Regions from separate parts of the Homo sapiens genome. Here region 1 is linked to region 2. The links are contacts of gene promoters, found by promoter capture Hi-C in blood cells and fetal thymus (Javierre and others, 2016). All regions are on one chromosome and are shown on one strand. Each heading gives the region's core, a stretch centred on a gene start or on the middle of the fragment in contact. The rest is flanking DNA. Distances are from core to core; before and after follow the strand shown.

Region 1 (2,700 bases), core at 158-2,657, 7.5 Mb after region 2:
GAAGAGGGAATGTCAGGGTGGCTGTGTAACATAGAAGCCAGTCTTGAACTATTTAGTGAGTCAGGAGAGAAGCTAGATTAAAGAGGAATAAACTTATCTTCCTAACTGCTTTATGCAAGTCAATTTTTTCCAGATACTTTTAATTAGTATTTTCATTCTAAATGTTAAATCAGCTTTGATTTTGTGTTAGTACATTAAAAGGAAAACACTGATTTCATAAACATATCCTGACTTTTTACTCATGCTGAAAAGGAAGGAAACTGTACAAGTCTCCAATTTATTTTATTTTTATTTTTTTACAGTTTTAAATGTCTTTTTTTCTATATTAATTTCAAGAAAGTCACATAAAAGCAGTAAGCAGTGAGAAAGAATCAGTAATTGATTGGTTATATTTTCTTTTCTTTTTTTGAGACGGAGTTTCGCTCTTGTTGCCCAGGCTGGAGTGCAATGGTGCGATCTCGGCTCACCTCAACCTCCACCTCCCAGGTTCAAGCAATTCTCCCGAATAGCTGGGATTACAGGCATGCACCACCATGCCTGGCCTAATTTTGTATATTTAGTAGAGACGGGGTTTCTCCATGTTGGTCAGGCTGATCTCAAACTCCTGACCTTAGGTGATCCGCCTGCCTTGGCCTCCCAAAGTGCTGGGATTACAGGCATGAGCCACCACACCCAGCCAATAATTGGTTATATTTTCATTTTAGGTAAATCATTTATTTTCCCCAGACCTAGGCTGGGGGGTAGTATGTTTGTTCTAATTTAAGCGATTGGTTTAAATAAATTTCCGATGTAATGGTTCTATGTTTAAAACCTTATTTCCAGCATACATGGTGGTGTGGTATATTGTTTAATTGTATATGAAGTTATGATAGTAAATTACTGGCAAAGATTATTTCACAGTCTTCATGCATGGTCTAGTAGTTTCCCCAGCTTATTATCTTGTCTGGCAGCTATTACTTTTGGTTTCAATTTTTAAATTCTGTTTTCATGAATGAATTGTGCTTCAGTTTAAATATGCCCAGTCCTGAGAAGTATTACAAAGCCATGTGAAGACATTTTTCATGAAATATCATTTCTGAAATATATCAGTTGACATAGGAGATAAGGTATCTGCTGAATTTATATTGACATTTTATAGTACTCTTTGTATTGCTTTAATAATCCTAGTATGTATACTTATTAAAATATATAAAAATTCACATGTGCAGTTTTTAGAAGTACCACTATATTCTTGGAAGTTAGATTCAGTCATCAGTGGGCAGCAGATGAAGTATGGAATTTTCTCCCATGTTACCTAATATTTTTCTTCTTTTGTTTTAGCACGCTTCCTGGGCTGTTACAGTCAATGGACTTATCAACACTGAAATGTTATCCTCCTGGCCAGCCAGAAAAATTTTCTGCATTTTTGGATAAAGTTGTTGGATTACAAAAATAAACACTAAACTCTCAACACTTTAAAAGCAACCCCCAAATTCAACCTATGTAATGTGATTAAATCAAATTAAATACATAATATATATTTACAAAATAATATAATTAATAAACTTCCTACATCTATAGAATGTATAGGAAATTTTATGTTGTGCACATTTGCATTGGGTCCAAATCCTAATTGCAGTTTAGTGAAATTACTAGATTTTTTTCTAATCTTCAGTATGTAGTGAGCATTCACAGGTTTTCTCCTAGAATCTCAAGTGGAATTGGAATCATAAAAATGAATGAGATTTGAAAACTTTCACAAAGATTATAAATGTAGTTAGTTTGATACTCCTTAGAATAAAAAAATGAAACAGTAACAACTTTTATGTAAAAAAATTTTACATAAGAGTTAGCATCTTTAGCTTTATAATCTAAGGAACCAAATTTAAAAAATGATGGATTATGCTCTGTGAAATGAAAAGTTCAATCATTGCCTAAAAAAGATGATCAAGTTAGTTGATCTCTTGTACTTGGAAAAGCTACTTTTTTCCTAAAGAACAGAGTGGAGTGGATATATTCACTTTTTTTTTCTAAAACATACAAAGTGATAAAATAATCGTGCCTAATGTCAAAACTTTACTGGTTTGAGAAGAATAATCAAAAAGGACTTATACCAATAGGACTTACTATTGTTTTTTAAGGATCTCCTCTCACAGTGGTAATGAAACATTAACTGTAACAGAAATTTACAATTTATGTGCTTATAAAATTAGTTTTATGAATGAACAATAAACTGATGCATATAATGGCTTAAATATATGGTTTTAAAATTGACTTAACTTGAGCAAGATACATTATGAAGTTCTTTCTGATTAGAGTGTGTGGTCTCAAGACCTTTACAGTAGATTATCCTTAAGTGTCCATAGCTCTCTGGTACAATGTTTAGATATAGTTTATCTATCAAAATAGAACATTCACTATAAAGACCTCTCTTCCATTCCAATCATATTATCCCAACATGCTAAATGTTCCAAACATTTTATTTGGAATGCATTTTATCATGTTTTTATAGGTTTATTTTTCTGATTGTGTTTTATTTAGGCTAATATTAAAAAAATGCTTACTAGTGGTAGAAGGTGGTGACAAAGAAATACTCTGGGTAGCAGGAGGAAGCCAACTTGGATTAAAATTTTGCTGAGAATAATCTAAAAAGTGAGTAATCTGGTTGAGAATTCACAGCACCATAATCATAATTGTATATCAATGTTATGTTTTAGGAAA
Region 2 (2,958 bases), core at 405-2,904:
GAACCCGGGAGGTGGGGGTTGCAGTTAGCCAAGATCGCCCCAATACACTCTAGCCTGAGCGACAGAGCAAGACTCTGTCTCAAAAAAATATAAAATAAAATAAAATAAAATAGACTATTTCGTTAGCTTCTTATTAACAGTTCCTGGTGCTATTACCTGAGTGCCTGCATTATCATGCAGCACTTGACTCTTGTTTCATTTGGATAATCAAGTCTCTTGTTTTTGGGGACTAAGCCATGGCCCATTCAGCCTCACTGGCCTCAGACCCCTGGGGATTGGTGCATTAGGGACCATAGAACAAACCATCATCAGCCTCACTTCCACAAGTTTTAAATTGGTCAGCCTCATTAGATATTAATGAATGATTCATTTTGAAAGCCACATACACAATGCAACACACCTTCTTGCAATCTCAATGAAAGAAAGCCGGCATGCTCAACAGTCAAACAACCAAGTAACTGAAGCAAGATAATGTATACATTTTAAAGGCACGTTGGAGAAGCTGTTTTCACTATAAGTTGCATTGGTAGGGCAAGGCACAGAGTTTAATACTGAATGGGGCTTGTTTTAGTGACAACCCCCCACTTCTCCTGCCCTCTTTCTCTTCTTCCTCCTGCCTTCTTTCATTTTTCCCCTCCTTTCCGCCTATTTAAGTTCTATGCTTTCCTGAAGGATCAATGTAGTTTCTTCATAAATATAGTTAATGCAAAGAATTGCTTTTATTGAAGAATTATGCTCTTATATGAAAATGTGCTTCCTTTTATAAAATAATATTAGGTAGTTTTAAAAATTGTCTTCTTTGGGCAAAGTAAGAAATTAGTAATCTTGGGGTTTCCTCTATTTTTTTTTAATCTTACGCATCCAAGAACAGGAATCACTTGCCCAGAATATAGAGAAGAGAGATGAGATAAACAGCAAAGTACACTATATAACACCTAACAAGTTGATTCAAGTTGAACAAGTTAAGCTCCATAATATATTTTCTACGGGAGGGAGGGGGCAAATTAGCAGGTGTGCCTTAGTCTCCTTTGGGAGTCAGGGAAGGCTTCACTGAGGAGATAACGTTTGAGCTGGAGTTTGAAGGATTAGCAGGGGAGAAATGGCAGGGCATTCCAAGCAGGGTGCCTATGAGCAAAAGGCGCAAAGCACAAAAGAGTACGACGTGTCCAGCAGCTCTGAGTAGGCGAGTGGCTGCAGCGTAGGGTTCTTGGAGTTAGGTGATCAAGGGTGAGGAAGGGACTATTTTCCCTGCTTGGACGATTTCTCCTACACCTCATTGCACGGTGCTGGGCACACACTGCAGGAGCTCAATAAATACTTGTTGAATTGGGACAGAATGAAAGAGTGCGCTGGGAACCAGGGCATCTGGATGTTTTCTCACGCACCCGCAGTGTGACCTTGGCCAAGTCCCTTTTCTGGGACTGCGGTTCCTGCTTAGTAGTCGAGTACGAGTGAGAAAGCGGAGGAGGAGGTTGGCCAGAGGCGCCTAGCCTTTCTAGCGGCCTGAATCCCTGATTCGATGCGTAGAGGGCGGGGCGGGCCGCTTGGGGCCGCGGCGGGCGGAGGTTCAGTTCCTCCTCCGGTCCAGCAGGGGGCACGGGGAGTGGCTTCCCGCCGCCCTTCCCCTCCTTGCGGGCGCCGGGCAGACTGCTGCAGTCGCAAGCGGCGAGCGCAGTGGGCGGGGCGGGCCTGGCCGGGCCGGGCGGCGGCGCTGCGCTGACGGGCTGAGTCTGGCGGCGGCGGAAGCTGCAGAGGCCACCGGGGCGCTAACTGGGTGGCCGGTGGGCCGCTGTGGCCTCGAGCAGCCTCTTCGCGCGGCCCCGCACCCCGGCAAGCAGCAGCGGGCCGCGACGCCCAGCCTGCCAGTGAGCTGCGACGGGCACACCCCGGAGCGTCGGCGACTGCGGACAGGTTAGAGTGGGGGCAGGGGCGGGCGCGGGAGCAGCCCAGGGCCAGAGAGGGAGCCCGAGCCAGGCCATCTCCAACCATGTCCGACGAGGCCTCGGCCATCACTTCCTACGAGAAGTTTCTAACCCCCGAGGAGCCCTTCCCACTCCTGGGACCTCCTCGCGGGGTGGGCACCTGCCCGAGCGAGGAGCCGGGCTGCCTGGACATCAGCGACTTCGGCTGCCAGCTGTCCTCCTGCCATCGCACCGACCCGCTCCACCGCTTCCACACCAACAGGTACGAACTGCACCTGAGGGCAGGGGTGGATTTTCCACTTCTGGTCGCCCCCCGCTCCTGATCCTTCGTCCCGGGCTGCGCTTCCAGTCGCCCCCTCCCCCACCTGCTTTCGACCAGCGCTCATTCCCGGCCTCCTTCCCTGCCCCCCCTCCCTATTTTCACCCCTGCCCTCCTATTTTCCTTTCGACCGGCGTTTTACTCTCTTTTCCTCATTCATATTCTGGCTATAGCGACTCCTCCCTTCCCTACCTTCTCCCTCCCTTGCTTCCCTTCCCTCCCCCCATCTGTACCCTACGAATCCCAAACCCCCACCCTTGATTTTTAGATACGCCCCTGTTTGCATCCATCTGCAAAAGTTTAACCCCTTCCATTTCCGGTACGCTGTAGAGGAATTTGGATGGCTCAAGATCAATCCATAGATCTTTTGAAAAGTGGCGTTGAAAGGTGGAACATTTAAAGCTAGAAGCTTCATTTTCCCTATTTTTAATCTGTCTCACAGTCCTGTTCCCCCCGCCGCCACCACCCCTACCCCATTTTTTTTTTTAGTTGAGCGCTAGGAAACTAGTCGATTCTCTCTTTTTTTCCTCCTCCTTTATTAACTGTTTGCCTTAGCGCTTTAGGCTCTGCCAAAATTGGTAAGCTTAAATCTGGAGGATTCCTTCATATGACATATCCCTTGGTTTCCTTCCCCTTTGAAGAGACAGAGTAAGGCTTAGGATGGACTGACTTACACAAATTTATTCAGAGGGTGTATCTCCTCCTAACTGATTTCAG

The links. Contacts are between HindIII fragments. The CHiCAGO score rates a contact against its expected background, and 5 or more counts as called.
Region 1: a contact is called between a fragment that was not itself captured here and the fragment with the promoter of FAM199X in region 2, in 1 of 17 cell types (neutrophils). The highest score is 5.4, in neutrophils.

The regions. Positions count from the first base shown.
Region 1 is chrX:111,686,567-111,689,266 of GRCh38, forward strand. The region is part of intron 3 of ALG13 (ALG13 UDP-N-acetylglucosaminyltransferase subunit); the gene reads left to right. Among named protein-coding and RNA genes, the nearest start is that of ALG13, 6.7 kb to the left of the region's middle. The HindIII fragment of the contact is 3,634 bases long and covers 1-2,700 here.
Region 2 is chrX:104,164,799-104,167,756 of GRCh38, forward strand. It overlaps FAM199X (family with sequence similarity 199, X-linked), which reads left to right and starts at 1,655. Exons shown (of 6, transcript NM_207318.4): 1 at 1,655-2,184. The coding sequence starts at 1,988. RefSeq lists a silencer at 1,443-1,932 and an enhancer at 1,497-1,997. The HindIII fragment of the contact is 4,401 bases long and covers 1-2,648 here.